2 separate regions of the Homo sapiens genome follow, and region 2 is linked to region 1. The links are contacts of gene promoters, found by promoter capture Hi-C in blood cells and fetal thymus (Javierre and others, 2016). All regions are on one chromosome and are shown on one strand. The core of a region is centred on a gene start or on the middle of the fragment in contact, and the rest is flanking DNA. Distances in the headings are between cores, read along the strand shown.

Evidence for each region. Contacts are between HindIII fragments. The CHiCAGO score rates a contact against its expected background, and 5 or more counts as called.
Region 2: a fragment that was not itself captured here is called in contact with the fragment with the promoter of PELP1 in region 1 in 1 of 17 cell types (neutrophils); the score reaches 6.1 in neutrophils.

Annotation. Positions count from the first base shown.
Region 1 is chr17:4,699,412-4,706,629 of GRCh38, forward strand. It overlaps PELP1 (proline, glutamate and leucine rich protein 1), which reads right to left and starts at 4,726. Exons shown (of 17, transcript NM_014389.3): 1 at 4,452-4,726. The coding sequence starts at 4,700. It overlaps PELP1-DT (PELP1 divergent transcript), which reads left to right and starts at 4,819. Exons shown (of 2, transcript NR_103482.1): 1 at 4,819-4,959; 2 at 5,788-6,118. It also overlaps the pseudogene RPS12P29. The HindIII fragment of the contact is 30,411 bases long and covers 1-7,218 here.
Region 2 is chr17:5,013,895-5,018,333 of GRCh38, forward strand. It overlaps KIF1C (kinesin family member 1C), which reads left to right. Exons shown (of 23, transcript NM_006612.6): 18 at 849-943. Among named protein-coding and RNA genes, the nearest start is that of KIF1C-AS1, 4.0 kb to the right of the region's middle. The HindIII fragment of the contact is 9,804 bases long and covers 1-4,439 here.

The sequences.
Region 1 (7,218 bases), core at 3,476-5,975:
AGGGTATATATTGAAATTCTTTCAAATATTGTTCCAACTTTTCTGTAAATTTTCAGTTATTTCAAAGTAACGCTAAAAGAAGAAGAAGGAGAGACAAAAAGTACAGATAACACTTTCAAGGAGTTTTTGCCATAAAAGGAAGTACACAAATGGCAAATGAGGCAGTAGCTAGAGGGTGATTTGTTTGTTTTTTGAGACAAAGTCTCCCTCTGTTGCCCAGGCCAGAGTTCGCAGGCGCAATCTCGGCTCACTGCAATGTCTGCCTCCCAGGCTCAAGCAATTCTCCTGCCTCAGTCTCCTGATTAGCTGGGATTACAGGCATGCGTCACCACGCCCAGCTAATTTTTGCATTTTTAGTAAAGATGAGGTTTCGCCATGTTGGTCAGGCTGGTCTCGAACTCCTGGCATCAAATGATCTACCCATCTCAGCCTCCCAAAGTGCTGGGATTACAGATGTGAGTCACTGCACCCAGCCCTAGAGGGTGATTTTTTTTTTTTTTTTTTTTTTTGAGACAGAGTTTCACTCTATCACCCAGGCTAGAGTGCAGAGGCGCGATCTCGGCTCACTGCAACCTCTGCCCCGAGTTCAAGCGATTCTCCTGCCTCAGCCTCCTGAATGGCTGGGATTACAGGATTACAGATGCCTGCCACTGCGCCTGGCTAATTTTTGTATTTTTAATACAGACGGGGTCACCATCTTGGCCAGGCTGGTCTTAAACTCCTGACCTTGTGATCCACCCACCTTGGCCTCCCAAAGTGCTGGGATTACAGGCGTGAGCCATCACGCCTGGCCGAGGATGAAGTTTTGAGCCTGTATGCTGATGAAAATGATCCAACAAAAAGAGAGGCCAGGTGCAGTGGCTCATCCCTGTAATCCCAACATTTTGGGAGGCTGAGGCAGGAAGATTTTTTTATTTAAGTAGGAGTACACTCTAAAATACGACAAAAAGTGGCCGGATGTGGTGGCTCATGCCTGTATTCTCAGCACTTTGGGAGGTCGAGTGGGGAGGATAACTTGAGGTCAGAAGTTCGAGACCAGCCTGACCAACATGGTGAAACTCCGTCTCTACTAAAAATACAAAATTAGCTGGGTATGGTGGCAGGTGCCTGTAATCCCAGCTACTCAGGAGGCTGAGGCCTACGTAGAAGACAGAACAAGACACTGTTTTTGTCCTTCAAAAGAATATACAGGATAAATGACATTTGGGATTTGCTTTAAAATGGTCCACCAAGCTGAGCACGGTGGTTCACCTCTGTAATCCCAGGATTTTGGGGGGCCAAGGCGGGAGTATCACTTGAGTTCAGGAGTTCAAGACCAGCCTGGACAACATATAAAGCCCCCATGTCTACAAAAAAAATTTTTAAATTAGCCAGGGGTGGTGGCACACCTGTAGTCCCAGCTACTCGGGAGGCTGAGGTGGAAGGATTACTTGAACCTGGGAGGTTGAGGCCAAGGCCGCAGTGAGCCATAATCTGGCCACTGCACTCCAGCCTGAGTTAGAGTAAGGCCCTATCTCAAAAAAAAAAAAAAGAAAAGAAAAGAAAAGAAAAAGAGAAAGAAAGAAAAAGCAAAGTTCCACTAAAAAAAAAAAAAAAAAAAAAAAGCCAAGCTATGGGAGGAATGAAATAACATTGGCAAACGTTCACTGTTAAATTTGAGTGATGGGGGCAGCATAGGGTGGGGTGGGGAAAATACTATTTATGTCTGAAATTTTATATAAGTTTTATTAATTACATACAAGAACAAATCAAAGACTTGCTGAATGTAGGGGAGAGAGGTTATAAGTATATGTGAAATAAATAAACAGACAGTAGGATAAAGAGCAGTCAATCATAGGTGGCCAAGAAATATATCCCAAAGGCAGTGACAAATAAGCAAAGAATTGAGAAGACTGGGAAGGAGGATGAGAGTTGGGGGGGTGGGGGCACTGCACAGGGAGGGATTCCAAGAGAAGAGTAAGTACAAAGCCTCTGAGGAAAGAACACCCAGAGGCTGAAGGATTTTTAAAAGCTGCAAACAGGATCAGAATTTTACTTTAGAAAGCTCACTCCAGCTACTGTGTGGGGAACGGATTACAGAGGGCAAGACTGAAGGTAAGGAGACCCGTTAGAAGATTGTTGCTATAATATACTCCAAGCTAGATATGGAGCACTGTGCTAGGATCATTCCATTTTGGAACTACTGAGCTTGCAGTACCTGCGGAAAAGCCATGTTGGTAGGTGGATGATCAAACAGTGGATCCCCCTTGCTCGCAAGCTCCAGGTCTATTGCTGACTTTCATTTCTCATCTTAACTAGACTAGAAATTCTCTGAGGGAAAGGACCATGTCTTATTTATCTACCTAGAGACGAGGAACAGTACGTAAAACATAACAGATACTCAATAAATGTTTGTTGAATGAAACCTTTGGGGAAGGAAAGGAAATCCTCCACATAATCCCAATTCAAAGGACACAAGTAGAAAAAAAATTCAAGGCAGGATGTATCTAAACAAGTAGCACAGGAAATATTAAAGGGCGGCCCTAGTTTCCCACATCACTCTTAGCTTCTTTACTCAAAATTCTACTAGACTTCAGACATGTAAGAAAAATAAGCAAGACGTTAAGTTCATGTAGTTGACTTTGAGGGAGGAGAGGAAGTCCTGAAAGAGATGATGAAAGAAATCACACATTTATAGGCGGGATAGGTAATATTTCACAAATACTTATAAAAAAAATTTCTGGGGGGCAAGGCATGGTGGCCCGTGCCTGTAATTCCAGCACTTTGGGAAGCCAAGGCAAGTGAATCGCCTGAACTCGGGACTTTGAGACCAGCCTGGGCAACATGGCAAAACCCCGTCTCTACCAAAAATACAAAAATTAGCCGGGCATGGTGGCGCATGCCTGTGGTCCCAGCTACTCTGGAGGCTGAGGTGGGAGGATCCCTTGAGGCTGGGAAATGGAGGTTGCAGTGAGCCAAGATCATGCCACTGCACTCCAACCTGGGTGACAGAGTAAGACCTTGTCTCAAAAATAATAATAATTCTGGGACTATTGTGAGATAAAGAAAACAGAAAAACCCCACTGTAATATAACTGACTGATGAAAACCACATAAATTAGAAGAGGGGAATTTAGAGACAAGAGAAAATACATAATCAGCTCCAGCCTCTGATATTGGGCTGAGATAGCAGAGATATAGTTTTGTCACCCTCAATTATGCAGAGTAATGTTAAAGACAAACAGATAGGGTTATCTGTGATAAATCTGGGGCTAAGGTTATTGACCCACCCAGCAAATTGTGACAACCATCTTCCTGGAAGGTAGCATAGAGCTAGGAAGGTCCCAGGAATGAAGGGTGGACACAGAAGATCTCGTGTTTATGGGTCTTGAAGGATGGGTAGAATTTGGGGGAGGTTTAGTGGGAGAGAAGGGAAGATAGGAGATTGTTATAAGGAGCAGCTATTATGGGCTAGAAATATGCCTTCTTAGAATCAGTGCCTTCACCCGGACAAGATGGTGGGGGTTCAAGCTAGAATGGGAGCAATGAGAAAGATGGAAAAGAGTGGACAGATCTGAAAACTACTCAAAGGATAAAATCAACAGGACTTGACAGATTGCTTATGGAGGTGTATGAAGAAGAGTTTAGAATTACTTGAGTGTCTAGCTTGCAGAACTGAATGGTTATCAGATTCCATTCTTATAGAAGTCCAAAGGCTCCTAACCCGGCCTAAAACGCTCTGCATGACCCGACCACTGCCTACCCATCTCACCAGTCTCATCTGTACCCACTCTCTTCCCCTCCACATCTGAGCCCCAGGAACGATGCCCTTCTTTCCAGTTCCTTCCTACCACAGGGTCTTCCCACATGAGCTCTCCTCTGACTGAACAGCCCCTCCCATATTTTTTCCCTACCCAACCCCTATTCATCCTTAGGGTCTCAGCTTAAACGCCGGTTTCTTTGGAAAAATCTCTGCCAGTCTTCAGATAAGGTTAGAGACCCCTGATATTCAATTCTCATCTTGTTTCGCAGCATTTTGTGTATCGCCACCACGTCTGTAACCGGAGCGCCTAGTACAGTATCTGACCCTCAATAAGAGCTCGGTAAATGTTTATTGTTGAATGCGTCATTCAGTCAGTCGAAACAATCCCCGAAACAGATATTGCCAGAGGAAAAAGAGACTTTTAGATTATACAACTAGTGAGTGACCGGGCCTGGAACCTAATCGATTCCTGTGTGCCGACCAATAGCCTAACAACAGAAAAATAAGGCCCATTTTTCCCCTGGAGAAACTCATGGCCGATAAAGGAGAAATACGTGCATCCCGTCCGGACTGATACCTGGATCCCCTTTCTGCCCGCAGCTCTCCTTCCTTCAACCTCCCTATCGCACTTGCACTGCACCGTAATCCCGGCGCACAGGTGCCGCGCCATCCTCCCCACAGGGCCGCGGGCACGCGGGCCACGGACTCACCTGGGCCCCGCCCACCGACCCATGCAGCCGCAATAGGCACATGAGCCCGGGCAAATGTGGGGCCGAGCGGTTTGGGGGATGCACCGGAGCAACGGCAGACCCCGTTCGAGGTTGCAGCAAACCAGAAACACTCTCCAGCAGCAGCAGGCGGAGCCGCGGGCCCGAGCTCACTGCCGAGAGACCCCCGGTCCCGCCAGGAACCCCAGCCGCGGAGCCCGCAGAGGGCCCACTCAGAACGGCTGCCGCCATCTTCCCCCGGGTTCCAGTGGTGGCGTGGCGCGATGACGCAAACACACCGCGACGGCCGCCTACTGGGGAGGGGGCGTGGGGAGGGGGCTGCGGTCTTGCGCACTGAGTGAAGGCAGGCTGGACTCGCGGGCTCAAGCTGGGAAGGAGCATGCGCGGAGAGAGCAGCCTGGGCGCCGAGGCAGCGGGGTGCTCGGTTCCCGGAGTGATGGCGGATGAGGCTGCCTGTGAGCGTGTCCGAGGCGGTCCTGTGATGTTAAAGGTACACGTGGTCCGGACAAAAGGCGCCAAAGTCGGAACGATTTCCATTTAGCGGACGGAGTCTTGGGACATCTTCGCTGTAGGAATCAATAACTCTCATTTTTTTTTTTTGAGACGGAGTCTCGCTCTGTGGCCCAGGCTGGAGTGCAGTGGCGCGATCTCGGCTCACCGCAACCTCCACCTTCCAGGTTCAAGCGATTTCCCTGCCTCAGCCTCCCGAGTAGATGGGATTACAGTCGCGCGCCACCACGCCCGGCTAATTTTTTTTGTATTTTTGTAGAGATGGGGTTTCACCATGTTGGCCAGGATGGTCTTGAACTCCTGACCTCAGGTGTTCCGCCCGCCTTGGCCTCCCAAAGTGCTGAGATTACAGGCATGAGCCACCGCACCCTGCCTAGGAATCAGTAACGTGTGTGTGTGTGTACGCGCGCCAAAGATTTATTTCTTCATTTCTTGCATTTCAAGTACTCTTCGATGTCATCCTTGGCCTGAGACTCCTTGCCATAGTCCTTAACTACTACACAACTGCAACCAACCACTTTACGGGGTTTCCCCTCTCTGTCGATTTTTACAGAGCCCTACCCATTCTCCTAGTTTCTTGTTGTCATCAACCTTAATTAGGTTGATTTGGTGTTCAGCACAAAGGCCTCCACCAACTTGACATACATAGTAGGCTCATCATAGTTGGATGCAAGCACACAAAGATGGGCTTGGCGTTTGTCTAAGGCTTTGGCAGCTTCGCGAATTCCACGTGCTAGGTCATGGTGGATGAGAGCGGTCTTCAGCACCTCTTGTGAAGCAGTATTAACATCCATTACCCCTCCAGCAGCAATGCCTTCCTCGGCCGTGGCGGTGGGTTACAAGTGAAGCTGAATCTTGAAGGTACCCAAGCCTCCGCCTCCGCGCAACTCGGCAGCGGCAGGGAAAGAGAAGGAATCAATAACTCTCTAGGTAACTTGAAATCACAGACATTTTTAACTACATTTGCAACTTCAGAAATGATACAAGACGTGCGCCTTGCAAAAGCCAATTCAAACAGTACAGAAAGGCATAAAGTAAAAAGAAAAACTGCTCCTCCCCCGCAAAGCCCTGCCCCAGTAGCGTGTATACTTTCCTAATATTAGTCTATGCACAAGCACATAAATGAATATTTTACAAGATTGGGGTCTGCGTGTGGCTTGTTTTCACTCATGGCCTTCTTTATGCTGTTTTTTAAACTGTGGTATGAATGAAATGGGTGCACCATGATTTAATAATTCTATTGCTGAATTAATGCTTAAAGGCTGCTCCAGCTTTTTGCTAATGCAAACTGTAGTGAACACGCTAATACCTCTATGTTTATGTTTGTGTACTTTTGTGATTGTTAGATTCAAATCCAAGAGTCATCATTTTTCTTTTTTTGAGGAGTCTCTCTGTCGCCCAGGCTAGAGTGCAATGGCACGATCTCGGCTCACTGCAACCTCCGCCTCCCAAGTTCAAGTGATTCTCCTACCTCAGCCTCCCAAGTAGCTGGAAGTACAGGCACCCACCACCATGCCCAGCTAATTTTTGTATTTTTAGTAGAGACGGGGCTTCACCATGTTGGCCAGGCTGGTCTCAAACTCCTGACCTCAAGTGATCTGCCGGCCTCAGCCTCCCAAAGTCCTGGGATTACAGGTGTGAGCCACCCCACCTGGCCCGTTTTTCCTCTTATTGCCTCCTATCCAATCCTTCAAGTCCTGGCATTCAAGGCCTCCAAAATACATTAACCCAATAGCGTTAATTTTTCTCCATCTCCACTGCCGCTCCGGTCCAAATTACCATTCACTCTCACCTAGTCTATTACAAAGCCTTCGTTGCTCTCTGCTTCCCTCTTAGCACCCTGTAGTCCCTTCACACAGCAACCAAAGTGGTCTTTTCAAATGTAAACAAGTTGTTGTCACTCCTAGCTTCAACCCCTCTGTGGCTTCCAAATGTGATGAGAATGAAATCCCATCTCGTCACTGAGGCCTAAAAGAATCCACCCAATCTGACTCATACCCACCTCCCTGACCTCAACACATACCACAAGTACCCTTTTCCTTCTCTCTTCCTATTCTTGAGCCACGCTAGCCTTCTATTTTCCAGCAAAGCCCATTCTCACATCCGAACCTTTGCACATGTTGCTGATTATGCTGGAGAAACTGTCCTTTGATTCTATGTAACTAACGCCATTTTGCCATCCTGAGACGACTTCTTTTTCGGTAGCTCCCACTCCAACCCCCATCAGCCTCCATCACAT
Region 2 (4,439 bases), core at 1-2,500, 310 kb after region 1:
AGCGTGCCTGCTCAGTGGCTGTCTTGCCTCCACCTGCCAGTTTGGTTAGGGCGAGACAACCTTGTTTACTGGGGCAGGAGAGTTGGGAAACATAGACCCCCTCATTCTTAGACCCTGATGCCATTGCCTTGGCCTCCCTTGGTGGGGCCTTCCCTGGGGGCGGGAGAAGGGAAACACGGCCTGGTCTGTGCGGTTGAGGGCTGGGCAGCTAAGGGCATGTGGCTCCTTGGGCTGGTATTATGAAGTCATGGGGGCTCGGTGCCTCCCCTAAAGGGGTGAGGGTGCCCTTCCCCTCCCACCACAGGCATTCGTGGCTGTCCTTGGTAGTCATCTTGGGTAGGGAGTGAGCTCTCAGGATCATCAACCTAAGGATGGGTGGAGGCCTGTGGCTGAGGGTGCCCGTTTCTCCCAGGTTTGCTTGTACCCAGGTAGCATGTACCCAGTGGCCCGGGGGGCAGCCTCTGCTTTTGGGGTATGGCTGCTGAGGGTTAGCCACATTGGTGCCTCCCTTCCCTGGTGGTCCCTGGAGATAACTCAGATCTCTAAACAGCTGCCTCCACAGCCCTGCATGCTCTCCCAGCTTCAAGAGAAGTTGGCGAGCCTGCTGTATAACATGGTGACTAAGAGCATGGCTTCAGAGTCAGGCAGACCTGGGCTCAGATCCCAGCATCACTTCACTGCCCACTGAATGAACCCGGGCAAGCCATTTCACCTCCCTGAGCCTCTGCTTCCTCATCTGTGAAATGGGAATAATTGGCTTGGTTCATTGAGTTGGATAAACTGGTGTTCAGGAGGGGCTTGGTTAAAGTCTGGCACATGCTCACAAACGTTGGCCATTGCTTCCCCAGGGTCGGCCAAGTAGATATGGACATCAAGCTGACCGGACAGTTCATTCGGGAGCAACACTGTCTGTTCCGGAGCATCCCCCAGCCAGATGGAGAAGGTAATGGCTGAGGGGGTGAGAGAGGCCAGACAGGGAGAGAGGCCCCATGTTCCACCCCACACACTGAACTCAGAGGTCTGGGTTGGGCACCAGGGAGTGCAGCCATATAAAGAGGGGATGTGGCCTTGTCCTCAGAGGGGCTTGGGGCTCATGGGTATGAATGGAGGAATACCACAGGCCCAGCCCTCTGCACCCACCCTGAGAAGACAGACTACTGTGTGGTCAGGCACTGGCGAGGGTTCTAAGGTAGAAATGGGACACTAGTGAGCCAGAGTGTGGGATTTTGCTGAAGAGAAGATCCTGCCCTTCTTGATCTTGTTCACCACAACTAGCACTCTGATCCTTTTTAAACAAAAACCTGTATTTGAATATCGGAACTTGTCCCTGTGGAAAACCTGCCTCTATCCAGCTATGACTGCCGAGATTTCTTTTTCTTTTTCTTTTTCTTTTTCTTTTTTTTTTGAGACGGAGTGTTCGCTCTTGTCGCCCAGGCTGGAGTGCAATGGCGCGATCTGGGCTCACTGCAGCCTCAACCTCCCGGGTTCAAGCAATTCTCCTGCCTCAGCCTCCCGAGTAGCCGGGATTACAAGCATGTGCCACCATGCCTGGCTAATTTTGTGTTTTTAGTAGAGACGGGGTTTCTCCCATGTTGGTCAGGCTGGTCTCGAACTCCTGACCTCAGGTGATCCGCCTGCCTCGGCCTTCCGAAGTGCTGGGATTACAGGCGTGAGCCACTGCCCCCAGCTTTTTTTTTTTTTTTTTTTTTTTTTTATCATTTGAGACGGAGTCTCACTGTTTCCCCCAGGCTGGAGTGCAGTGGCATGATCTTGGCTCACTGCAGCCCCCACCTCCCAGGTTCAAGTGATTCTCTTGCCTCAACCCCGAGTAGCTGGGATTACAGGCACGCGCCACCACACCAGGCTAATTTTTGTATTTTTAGTAGAGACGGGGTTTCACCATGTTGGTCAGACTGGTCTTGAACTCCTGATCTCATGTGATCCGCCCACCTTGGCCTCCCAAAGCACTGGGATTACAGGCGTGAGCCACTGCACCTGCTGAGGTGTATTTTTGAGGCCACCAGTTTGTTTTAGTTCTAACACTTAAAAAAAAATAGAATGATTTGGGTTCACATAAGCTCAAGCAAAGTCTCTGTGAAAATGAGTTGGGCAGGGAGGAAGGACGTGGTACACATGTGCTGTCTGTCAGCTTGGACCTGGTGTGTGTGTTGTGCCTCAGAGACCTAGGAGTGCTTGGCCTAACACCTTCCAGGGGACAAGGGACCTGGGGTGTGTATGGTCAGCACTTTTTTTTTTTTTTTGAGATGGAGTCTCGCTGTGTCGTCCAGGCTGGAGTGCAGTGGTGCGATCTCGACTCACTGCAACCTCTGCCTCCCGGGTTCAAGTAATTCTCCTGCCTCAGCCTCCCGAGTAGCTGGGACTACAGGTGTGCGCCACCACACCCGGCTAATTTTGTATTTTTAGTAGAAACAGGGTTTCTCCAACTCCCAACCTCAGGTGATCCTCCTGCCTTGACCTCCCAAGGTGCTGGGATTACAGGCTTGAGCCACCACACCCAGCCCTAATTTTTGTATTTTTAGTAGAGACAGGGTTTCACCATGTTGGTCAGGCTAGTCTTGAACTCCTGACCTTGTGATCCACCTGCCTCGGCCTCCCAAAGTGCCAGGATTACAGGCGTGAGCCACCGCACCCGGCCAGCACATTTTAAAAAATAACAAAAGACGCTATCATGTGCGTCTTACAGTGAGGTTTAAGACATACCTCTTGGGGCTGGTGGGGTGGCTCATGCCTGTAATCTTAGCACTTTGGGAGGCCGAGGTGGGTGGATCACTTGAGGTCAGGAGTTTGAAACCAGCCTGGCCAACATGGTGGAACCCCGTCTCTACTAAAAGTACAAAAAAATTAGCTGGGCATGGTGGCGAACGCTTGTAATCCCAGCTACTTAGGAGGCTGAGACAGGAGAATTGCTTGAACCTGGGAAGTGGAGGTTTCAGTGAGCTGAGATTGCGCCACTGCACTCCAGCCTGGGTGACAGAGTGAGACTGTTTCAAAAAAAAAAAAAAAAAGACATGCCTCTTCGGTTTCCATATGGTTCAGGGTCAGCCAATCAAGGCAGTTGTTCTGGTCTGGTTCAAGTCCTCAGTGACAGCAAATGCTTCCGGCATTTTGGGTTGAAAGCTGTTGAATCAGTTCAGCCCAGTGAGTTATTGCCAAGTTCCTGTTCTGCGGCAACCTCAAGCCATTTGCTGGGGGAGATATGAAAGCCATACAGGCCACCAAAAATACACCTCAGCAGAGCCAGCCCATGGGCAAGGAGCTACAGTGCGGAGAGATGACACCCGTGTGCAAGACTGACATAGGTCACAGTAAAGGCAGCCAATGATTCTGTGTTGCCAAGGGTGGGGATTGTGATGGTTTAGTCCCTGTGGGCCTTGGTTCTTTTTTTTTTTTTTTTTTTTTTTTGAGACGGAGTCTCGCTCTGTCGCCCAGGCTCGAGTGCAGTGGCGCGATCTCGGCTCACTGCAAGCTCTGCCTCCCGGGTTCACGCCATTCTCCTGCCTCAGTCTCCTGAGTAGCTGGGACTACAGGCGCCCCCCCACCACCACACCCGGCTCATTTTTTTGTATTTTTAGTAGAGACGGGGTTTCGCCGTGTTAGCCAGGATGGTCTCAATCTCCTGACCTCATGATCCACCCGCCTCGGCCTCCCAAAGTGCTGGGATTATAGGCGTGAGCCACGCGCCCAGCCTGGGCCTCAGTTCTTAACAGCAGATTTAAGACCTGGCCAGAAACAGGCAGAGAGGACGGGGGCAGCACAGACAGGTATGGATGTAGAAGAATGGTTTTTACTGACCATCTACTCTGTGCGTCCGCATTTTCTCACACAGCTCACAGGTGAGAGAACTGAGGCTCTCGGGGGTTAGGTGATTTGCAAAAGATGACACAAAATGGCAGAACTGGATTCAGACACAGGATGGCAGGCACCAGGGGCTGTGCTGTGAGCTCTGCCCTAGACTGTCAGATTATCATGGGTTCAGGGTAAGGCTGCCTGGGCCAAGCTGGAGCAGTCTTCTCACCCAGCCCCACTTTCCCTGCATAACACGTATTCCCTCCTTTTTTATTTTCATTTTCATTTTTATTTTTTGAGACAGGGTCTTGCCCTGTCACCCAGGCTAGAGTGCAGTGGCATGATCATGGTTCACTGTAGCCTCAACCTCCCGGGTTAAAGTGATCCCCCCACCTCAGCCTCCTGAGTAGCTGGGACTACAGACCTGTGCCACCACACCTGGCTAATTTTTGTACTTTTCGTACAGACAGGGTTTTACTGTGTTGCCCAGGCTGGTCTCAAAGTCCTGAGCTCAAGCAGTCCACCTGCCTCGGCCTCCCAAAGTGCTGGGATTACAGGCGTGAGCCACTGTGCCCAACCCTATTCCCTTTAGAGAGGACTTTAGATTATCTGCTTTTAAAAATATTAATAGA